3 separate regions of the Homo sapiens genome follow, and all the other regions are linked to region 2. Evidence: promoter capture Hi-C in human tissues and cell types (Jung and others, 2019). All regions are on one chromosome and are shown on one strand. Each heading gives the region's core, a stretch centred on a gene start or on the middle of the fragment in contact. The rest is flanking DNA. Distances are from core to core; before and after follow the strand shown.

Region 1 (3,372 bases), core at 11-2,510, 1.6 Mb before region 2:
TACAGCTTGGGTGACTGAATGAGACCCTGTCTCAAACAATAACAACAGTAATAATAAAAGAGCCATTTCCTCTGACTGGGTCCATCACCCCACTTCTGACCCCAGACTCCTACTAGTCTCACATAAGCCATCCTTTTACTTTGAGACCTGTGGCCAGTTACCAAACTGCCCTGGGCCTCAGTCTCCTCATCTGTAAAATGGAATAAATGCTACCGACATCATAGAATCGAGGTGCTTAGAACAGTGCCTGGCACATAGAAAATGCTAGGCAAGGGTTAGCTATTGTTACTGTTGCTGTTGAACTAACCTGACCTTTCCCCAACCTCTAAATCTGAGTTAAGTTCCCACTTCTAGGCTTCATCATCCCCCTGTACCTGCAGCCATCACACGGGATTCTAACTGTGTGGTTACCCTTCAGTCTAACATCAAGCTCCATGGGGGATCCAAGGACGGAGTTTAATCTCCTGCACCCAGCAGGAAGCCTGGGACAGTAGGCGTGACTTTTGTATGATGGAAGCCCAGGCAGTAGGGCAGAAGGATGGGCCAATCCTGAGGTTTTAGATCCGAGATTCTGGGAAAAGTAGGGGCAAGATCCCTGGCTTCTATCTGAGGGAGGCTGGGCCTGGACCAGGTTTGGGGACAGTGTGCCCCAGGGTGTGTGTGACACATACCTCCTTGTTGTCCATGGGGATCTTGAGTTTCACCACCTCATACTTCTCCTCACCCTCATCCTCCTCACCCTTCACCAGCAGCACCATCTCCTCCTGCATCTCTTCCTCCTCCTCTTCCTCTGCCTGCTGTTCGCCAGGCATCTTGGTGTCCTGAGGCGGGGAGCTGGATCAGAAGCTCAGGACCCGCCCCCCCCCACCCCCCCCCCCGCCCACCGTGGCCCTGGCCCAGCAAGGCAGTGCAGCCGTGGCTTCTCCCGCCCTGCCCTGGTCTCCGAATCTGGTCCTCTCCCGTCCACCCCAGCCCGGCCCCACGCTCTGGCACAGCCCCGGGACCAGCTCCGAGGGCTCGCGTTCACCCCACTCATCCCAGCATTCAAGGCCTTGAACAGTTCGAATCTCCAGCCCCCGCAAGTCGCCACCATCCTTGCGCTGAGTCACTCCCCAGGGCCCGGGTCGGCGACCTGGAGCTCTGGGGCACGGGCTGGAGGCGGGATCGGGGCGGAAACCCCGGGGAGGGGGTGCGCACTCACCAGCCGAAGGTTCGGCACTCGCGGTGCCCCAGGCCTGGGCGCCGGGCGGCTGGGCACTCAGCGAGGCCGCGGCTCCGGGGGCGGGGAGGGGGCGGGACCGCAGGGACGGCCGGTCATTGGTCCGAACATATAGCCCCACCCCCTGGGGCGGAGCCCGAAGGACCCAGGCGTCCGGCCCAAACGGCTCGGAGAGGGCGGCGAGCTCAGACTTGGCGTCCTCCGCAGTCCCCCGACTCCCAAGCACCTGGAGCCGCCCCAGCCCGGCGTTCAAGGTCCTTGCCGCCGAGTTCCAACCTAACCTCGCGGCCCGTCTCCTGGGGCCGGCTTGGAGGTCTCCGCTGCGCCCAGTGCCTCTGCTCCGCCCGAAATAGGCCACGTGCGCTCCCGCCCCGGCCTGGGCCTCTCCCTGGCGCCCCGCCTGGAGGGCGGACCCTGTTGCCTCCTCACTTCTTCCATTCCCTCTTTATCTCCTCTGCCGTCTTTTCTCCATCTTTCTCGGCTTCGCCTATTCCGCTGGCCTCTGGGATATCCTTGAATACATCCTAACCAATTCAACATCCACCCAAGCTACCGCTGTCGCGTCATGCGTGGGGTGCTTACCATGCGCCAGCGCTGTTCAGCGTCTTACATACCTGGTCTCATTTGATCCGCATAACGATGGGTCCTGATCCATTTTACAGATGAGCTCACTGAAGTTCAGGGAGGTAAACTGATTTGCCTAAGTTACACGATAAGGATGTCATAGCATCCCTGACAATCAGTAGCCTAGGTGAACAACAGCCCAAAGCTAAATCCAGTCCACAGGGGTACCTTGTTTGGCCCTTAGGGTATTTTTACTTTTAAAAAATCTTTTCGGACGGGCACGGCGGCTCACGCCTGTAATCCCAGCACTTTAGGAGGCCGAGGCGGGCGGATCACGAGGTCAGGAGATAGAGACCATCCTGGCTAACACGGTGAAACCCCGACTCTACTAAACAAAATACAAAAAATTAGCTGGGCGTGGTGGCGGGCACCTGTAGTGCCAGCTACTCGGGAGGCTGAGACAGGAGAATGGCGTGAACCCGGGAGGCGAGCTTGCAGTTAGCCGAGATCGCGCCACTGCGCTCCAGCCTGGGCGACAGAGCGAGACTCCGTCTCAAAAAAAAAAAAAAAAAAAAAAAAAAAAAATCGTTTCAAAGCCGGGCGCGGTGGCTCATGCCTGTAATCCCAGCACTTTGGGAGGCGGAGGCCGGTGGATCACTTGAGGTCAGGATTTCGAGACCAGCCTAACCAACATGGTGAAACCCCGTCTCTACTAAAAATACAAAAATTAGCCAAGCTTGGTGGTGCATGCCTGTAATCCCAGCTACTCGAGAGGCTGAGGCACGAGAATTGCTTGAACTGGGGAGGCAGTGGTTGCAGTGAGCCGAGATCATGCCATTGGTCTCCAGCCTAGGCAACAAGAGCGAAACTCCGTCTCAAGAAAAAAAAAATTAAATTGGGATATTTCATATAAAAATAGATTTTTTTTTAGTGGAATAAACAAATGCCACTTCCTTTGAAAAACAGCCACTTCCCTTGAAAAAGCAGATATCTAATTTTCCCATTTTATGAATGGGGCAACTAAGATTCAGAAATCATGAAGGAAAACAGAAATAACATTCAGTAAGTGCTTACAAGTTCTATGTTGTCTCTTTACAACAGCCCTGTTGGGATCAATAATATCTCCATTGGACAAAAGAAGAAACGGAAGCTTAGACAAGTTAAGTAATTTGCTCAAAGTCACACAGCTGGCAAGCAGCAGATTCAAAGCTTGTGCTCTTCTATTGCACCAAATTACCTCTCAGGAATGAAGTTATAAAACTGGCTCTTTCCCAGAGCTGGGAGAAGGGGTCAAATGCCTGGATACTCACACACAGGATCCCCAAAAGCCACTTTGCATTCATTCTCTGAGTTTTTTTTTTTTTTTTTTTTTTTTTTTGAGATGGAGTCTTGCTCTGTCGCCCAGGTTGGAGTGCAATAGCACAGTCTAGGCTCACTGCAACCTCCGCTTCCCAGGTTCAAGTGATTCTCCTGCCTCAGCCTCCCAAGTAGCTAGGATTACAGGCACACACCACCACACCGGGCTATTTTTGTATTTTTTGTAGAGACGGGGTTTCACCATCTTGGCCAGGCTGGTCTCAAACCCCTGA
Region 2 (3,040 bases), core at 522-3,021:
CGTGGTAGCTCACGCCTGTAGTCCCAGCACTTTGGGAGGCCACAATGGGCGGATCACTTGAGGTCTGGAGTTCGAGAGCCGTCTGGCCAACGAGGTGAAACCCCATCTGTACTAAAAATACTAAAATTAGCCAGGCGTGGTGGCACATGCCTGTAGTCCCAGCTACTCAGGAGGCTGAGGTGGGAGAATTGCTTCAACCCAGGAGGTGGAGGTTGCAGTGAGCCGAGATCGCCCCATTGCACTCCAGCCTGGGCGACAGAGTGAGACTCTGTCTCCAAAAAAAAAAAAAAAAAAAAAAAAAAGATGGGGTCTTTCTCTGTCACTCACGGTGGGGTGCAGTGTCATGATCATACCTCACCACAGCCTTGAACTCCTGAGCTCAGGCGATCCTCCTGCCTCGGCCTCCTGAGTAGGAGGGGCTATAGCTGCATGCTACTGTGCCTGGCTAATTTTAAATTTTTTTTTGTAGAGATAGGGTCTCCTAATCTGCCCAGGCTGGTCTTGAACTCCTGGCTTCAAACCGTCCTCCCACCTCAGCCTCCCAAACTGCTGGGACTATAGGCTGGCACTATAGCCACCGTGCCCAGCCTCTTCTCAGTTTTAGAAGAGTGTTTGTTATATAGCTTCCCAGTCTGTGCATAGACCCCACGGAATCATAACCTCCAGGGGAGGAATTAGGGAATCTATTTGAAACAAACACTGTCCACTGAGTCTCAGGATCTGATGAGTTCCGAAACATTAGCCAGGGTTAAGCAGCCATAATTAACACTTTGGAGTGCCCTGTGGAAGCTGCCATGAGATGATGGATGTGAAAGTTAAGGGACATTGACTACCCTTGCACCCATTCATTCAACATTCACTGCATGCTCCACCCTGTTAGGTGCTGGGGACACCGACAGATTAAAGGAGACTCAGGCTCCCCTTAAAGGCTCCCCTAGCTGGCTCCTCATCCTTGGCTCCTCATCTGCAAAATTAGATGGGTGGGGCGATGCCCAACGGAACTGCTCCTTAGGCTGCTGAGGGACTACAGGGGTGGGCAGCGAAGCTGTCTGTCTTGTGGGCTCTGGCCCTGTGAGGTCTAGCAGTACAGGGTCCCCGCAAGCTGCCTGACCTCACAGGGCCCAACACTGACTCCTACCCAGTTCATCTCCTCTCAGGGCTAGATGTCAGGCTCTCCCTATGAAGTGGATACTACTATTCCCATTTTACAGATTAGAAAACAAAGTCTCAGCGAAGAGGGAGGTCACACTTCACCCCATCCCCGAAAGGCGTCCAGGACCTGGTCCCCTACCTCCAGCTGCGGCAGAGGCGGCCAGATATCTCGCAAGACCCGCGTAGCGAGTCGGACTCCGGGGGACTCGGGGTCTCTCTCTGCCGGGCCCAGGAGGAGGTTCCTGAGCAGTCGGAGCCGCAGCTGCCTCCCGGAGCCCGAGCCCCTCCCTCCGGGTCCGGCCTAGCCCGCCTGACTCCCACTCTGATCACCTCCACAGCCCGCCGACCTGAGAACTACTACGCCCATGAGCCTTCGCGGCGCCGGTGATTTAGGGGACGCTCCTCAGTGCCCCCTGCGACCGCCAGAGAGAACTACGTTGCCCCTCAGCCCGAGAGGCGCGAGTGGTGGAAAACCTCTCCATCATACTCCGCCCTCGAGACACCAGCCCCCTCCATGACGTCTTCAGCCGCGCGCCCGACGTCGGCTGAGACGGCCATAGACACTGGCGGCTAGAGGGGCCCGGACTTGCCCTCCCAGCTCTAACTTCCGCCGGAAGTGCCTTCCAGCCGCAGGCGCCCTTCTTCTTCTGTGCGCTCGGGCTCCTGGTCCCGGCTCCCCGGTTACCGGGGCGCGAGTATGACCACAATGGCGGCCGCCACCCTGCTGCGCGCGACGCCCCACTTCAGCGGTGAGTGGTCAGGGAGGGCGATGGCGGCCCAGGAACACTTTGGGGGAGTGGTAGGTGGCTGGGTTCGGTCTGACCCCTTCCCTGCCTGACTCCAAGCTTCGGTCCCGGCAGGTCTCGCCGCCGGCCGGACCTTCCTGCTGCAGGGTCTGTTGCGGCTGCTGAAAGCCCCGGCATTGCCTCTCTTGTGCCGCGGCCTGGCCGTGGAGGCCAAGAAGACTTACGTGCGCGACAAGCCACATGTGAATGTGGGTACCATCGGCCATGTGGACCACGGGAAGACCACGCTGACTGCAGCCATCACGAAGAGTGAGTGGGGTTGGGGCGTCCAGCAGCGCCCTATCTACTGATGGGACCTGGAGCCAGGGAGGCAAGGCCAGCAGAGTGTCTGCTGGAGGAGTTTACTGTGGCCCCAAGAGCCCGAATTTGTGCGACAGGTGGATTGGGAGATGCAAGAGACAAATTTCTCCTGAACAGGAAGAACTTTGTGATCCACCAATGGCTTGGGGATCACAAAGTCGTGGGGAATGCTCTGCAAGCAGAGGCTGTACCCTAAAGAAGTCACAGGGCAGACCCTTAAGGCCCTCTAACATTTCTTTCTGACCCACAGTTCTCTCTGCTGGAAGAGTTAGAGATTGGAGGAGGTTATGTATTTAGGTGGGAGGGTTCAGGGGCGTGGTCTAAGCTCTGCCTCTAGCACTGGAACTTTAGCTGAGAGGTGTGTTCTTTTCCTCCTTTAGTTCTAGCTGAGGGAGGTGGGGCTAAGTTCAAGAAGTACGAGGAGATTGACAATGCCCCGGAGGAGCGAGCTCGGGGTATCACCATCAATGCGGCTCATGTGGAGTATAGCACTGCCGCCCGCCACTACGCCCACACAGACTGCCCGGGTCATGCAGATTATGTTAAGGTGAGGGTTGCTGGGACACTGGAGACAGGGCCAGAAGCTGCCTCTTGTCAGGATAAATGTTAGGCTTGTGGGGAGGAGATTAAGATATTCAGTGTTTGGGTATGAGATGGCAGGTTTGTGGTCTTGGCCACGCAGAATGGGTGGTGAGGAGATGGTAGAGAAAGGTGGGCCTGAGTTTCTAACTGCTACACTTGGCTATATGGATGTGAACTGAAGAGCTCGTTGAACTTGGCTG
Region 3 (3,371 bases), core at 515-3,014, 1.0 Mb before region 2:
TCCCACAGAACCCCACTGGAACGACACAGAGCCGGCCTGCAAAGGTGAGCCTTCCTTGTCGCAGGCATGTCCTTCAGTCCACGTTGCCCCCTGAACTGGGGATCCCAGCAAGGCCGTTCAGAAAGGAAGGCTGCACATCCAGACTTCATCCACCCAAGCCTTGGGTAAATCCCTGTCCCTTCAGAGGCTGTTTTCTTAGCTGAATAACTGCTGGGCTTGTTACTGAATGCAGGGGTCACAAACCCAAATGTCTTCAAGAGCGAGAACTGCTGTTGGGTTAAGTCACAGATTGGGCAGGCTGGAGAGTGGGCAGGGTTTGTTAAGAGCAGGACTGGATATTGAACACAACAGGACCTAGATGCGGCAAGAAACAGGTAGATCATGGCTGGGCACGGTGGCTCACGCCTGTAATACCAGCACTATGGGAGGCTGAGGCGGGCGGATCACCTGAGGTCGGGAGTTCGAGACCAGCCTGATCAACATGGAGAAACCCTGTCTCTACTTAAAATACAAAATTAGCTGGGCATGGTGATGCATGCCTGTAATCCCAGCTACTCAGGAGGCTGAGGCAGGAGAATCGCTTGAACCCGGGAGGCGGAGGTTGCGGTGAGCCGAGATCGCAGCACTGCACTCCAGCCTGGGCAAGAAGTGTGAAACTCCGTCTCAAAAAAGAAAGAAAGAAAGAAAAAAGAAACAGGTGGATAAAGCCGGGAGCAGTGTCTCACGCCTGTAATCCCAACACTCTGGGAGGCTCAGGCAGGCGGATCACCTGAGGTCAGGAGTTGGAGACCAGCCTGGTCAATAGAGTGAAACCCCGTCTCTACTAAAAATACAAAAATTAGCCGGGCATGGTAGTGCGTGCCTGTAATCCCAGCTACTTGGGAGGCTGAGGCACGAGAATCGCTTGAGTCTGCGAGGTGGAGATTGCAGTGAGCCGGGATTGCGCCACTGCACTCCAGCCTGGGCGACAGAGTGAGACTCTGTCTAAAAAAATAAAAATAGGGGCTGGACCTGGTGGCTCACGCCTGTAATCCCAGCACTTTGGGAGGCCAAGGCGGGCAGATCACGAGGTCAGGAGATCGAGACCATTCTGGCTAACACCGTAAAACCCCGTCTCTACTAAAAATACAAAAAAAAAAAAAAAGAAAAAAGAAAAAAAAATAGGGTGTGGTGGCGGCGCCTGTAGTCCCAGCTACTCGGGAGGCTGAGGCAGGAGAATGGCGTGAACCAGGGAGGCAGAGCTTGCAGTGAACCAAGATCGCACCACTGCACTCCAGCCTGGGCGACAGAGAGACTCCGTCTCAAAAAAAATTTAAAAATAAATAAATAAATAAAATAAAAGAATAAAAGAAACAGGTGGATCATAGGTAATAGGAAACAAGCGAGGTGATGTGGTGCACGCATCACGAGTGGTGAGGACTGTGGAGAAATGAAGACAGCATGCCCACCTGGGTCCTGAACCTGACACCCCTTTTTCCCTAGCCATGTGTGGAGGGGAGCTGTCGGAACCAGCTGGCGTGGTCCTCTCTCCCGACTGGCCCCAGAGCTATAGCCCGGGCCAAGACTGCGTGTGGGGCGTGCACGTCCAGGAAGAGAAGCGCATCTTGCTCCAAGTTGAGATGTATGTTTGGGTCCTGCAGAGGGTGCGACGGGTGTAGGCTCAGCAAAGTGTGGTATGCCAATGCAGTAGCCTGCATTCTGAGCCTGTCTGGCTCTTGCGTATCTATCCAGAATTCGGTGGATAGGCTGGTGCACTAAGGGTACAGGATAGACGTGAGAGAGCTGGGCTCAAATCACATATTAGCCAGGCAACCTCGGACAAATAAATAGGGCAATGCAGCCTTCCTTAGGGGCCACTGTGAACAAGGGGCTCTGGCCTGGTGCCTCTCACTCTTTGGAGGTTTCTGAGGCTTCCCCTGGAGCTATTTCCACGGACACAGACCCAAACTGTTGCGTTAACACCAGCAAGTTGGGGAGGTCTGGGGAGAATCCAGTGAGCTGAATTGGTATGAGAGTGTCATGAGATGGCACAGAAGCTGAAGTGGGCGTGGCTTCAAAGCAGGTACTCAGGCGGGGCCTAGAGTTGTGTAGGGCGTTAGCGAATTTGGTCTGTGATTGGCCAGAGCTGGAGTTGGGCTAGGCTGTGGATCTCATGGTGATGGAGGAGGGAGTGGACAGTGGGCGGAGTTAGTAATGTGCAAGCTTAGGGATTGGGTAGTAGGACATGGGAGGAGCCATAGAATAGGGGAACCCTGAGGCACTAGCATAGGAGAAACCATGGTTGGTCAAAACGGAGGCGGCGCCAGACCTGGGATAGGAGAATATGGGCGGGGCTGGAGAGTAGGAGGGGCTACCAATGAGCAGAGTTGAGGATGGGGCAGAGCTGGATGGGAGGGGCCAGTCGCAGCCCCGCCCCATTGCCTGGTCTCACCCCCTGCAGATTGAATGTGCGGGAAGGGGACATGCTGACGCTGTTCGACGGGGACGGTCCCAGCGCCCGAGTCTTGGCCCAGCTGCGGGGACCTCAGCCGCGCCGCCGCCTTCTCTCCTCTGGGCCCGACCTCACACTGCAGTTTCAGGCACCGCCCGGGCCCCCAAATCCAGGCCTGGGCCAGGGCTTCGTATTGCACTTCAAAGGTACTGAGGGATAGAGTCCCGGGATGGGCAGGGGTCGGGCAGGCCAGAGATCCCGGGAGGTGGCCGGTCGTGGTGGCTCACGCCTGTTATCCCGGGGCCTTGGGAGGCCGAGGCGGGAGGATCGTTTGAAGCCAGGAGGTTGAGGCTGCAGTGAGCTATGCTTGTACCACTGTACTCCAGCCTGGGCGACAGGAAACCCTGTCTCTAAGAGAGAGAGAGAGAGACAGATCCCGGGAGGGGGCACAGAGCAAAGCCTCCGAGGCTGGAAGGGAGCCCGCAGTTAAAACGCAGCCTCCAAACTCGCCTTCCCTCCCCTGCAGAGGTCCCGAGGAACGACACGTGCCCCGAGCTGCCACCTCCGGAGTGGGGCTGGAGAACGGCATCCCACGGGGACCTGATCCGGGGCACGGTGCTCACCTACCAGTGCGAGCCTGGCTACGAGCTGCTAGGCTCCGACATTCTCACTTGCCAGTGGGACCTGTCTTGGAGCGCCGCGCCGCCCGCCTGCCAAAAGAGTGAGCCGGCCCCGCCCGCGTCCCCTCGGCCCCGCCCCTTCCCTGTGGGCCCCGTCGTCGGCCTGTCCTGTCCCGACCCCCGTGCTTTCTGGGTTCCATCCCTTCGCTCGGGGTCCTTCCTGGATCTTCTTCAAGGCCTGCCCCCATGCCCTTTAGTTCTCACTCCTCCGCCCGGTTCCCCGAAACTGTCCCCTCTGGGTCTCCCTCTCATCTTCTCCG

What was found. The method cuts DNA at HindIII sites, captures the fragments that hold promoters and counts their contacts. A contact is called where the count stands out against the background at its distance.
Region 1: a contact is called between the fragment with the promoter of ZNF771 here and the fragment with the promoter of TUFM in region 2, in 1 of the 25 tissues and cell types used here (aorta).
Region 3: a fragment that was not itself captured here is called in contact with the fragment with the promoter of TUFM in region 2 in 1 of the 25 tissues and cell types used here (lymphoblastoid cells).

What each region holds. Positions count from the first base shown.
Region 1 is chr16:30,405,494-30,408,865 of GRCh38, reverse strand. It overlaps ZNF771 (zinc finger protein 771), which reads right to left and starts at 1,260. Exons shown (of 3, transcript NM_001142305.2): 1 at 1,202-1,260; 2 at 672-821. The coding sequence starts at 812. RefSeq lists silencers at 1,125-1,334, 1,357-1,536. The HindIII fragment of the contact is 10,608 bases long and covers 1-2,726 here.
Region 2 is chr16:28,845,079-28,848,118 of GRCh38, reverse strand. TUFM (Tu translation elongation factor, mitochondrial) reads left to right here and starts at 1,771. Exons shown (of 10, transcript NM_003321.5): 1 at 1,771-1,901; 2 at 2,013-2,207; 3 at 2,639-2,805. The coding sequence starts at 1,850. It also overlaps a transcript of SH2B1 not described here. RefSeq lists an enhancer at 1,420-1,909. The HindIII fragment of the contact is 27,203 bases long and covers 1-3,040 here.
Region 3 is chr16:29,876,537-29,879,907 of GRCh38, reverse strand. It overlaps SEZ6L2 (seizure related 6 homolog like 2), which reads left to right. Exons shown (of 18, transcript NM_001243332.2): 9 at 1-44; 10 at 1,483-1,621; 11 at 2,441-2,637; 12 at 2,958-3,152. Among named protein-coding and RNA genes, the nearest start is that of CDIPT, 15 kb to the right of the region's middle. RefSeq lists enhancers at 1,221-1,720, 1,721-2,222. The HindIII fragment of the contact is 6,800 bases long and covers 1-3,371 here.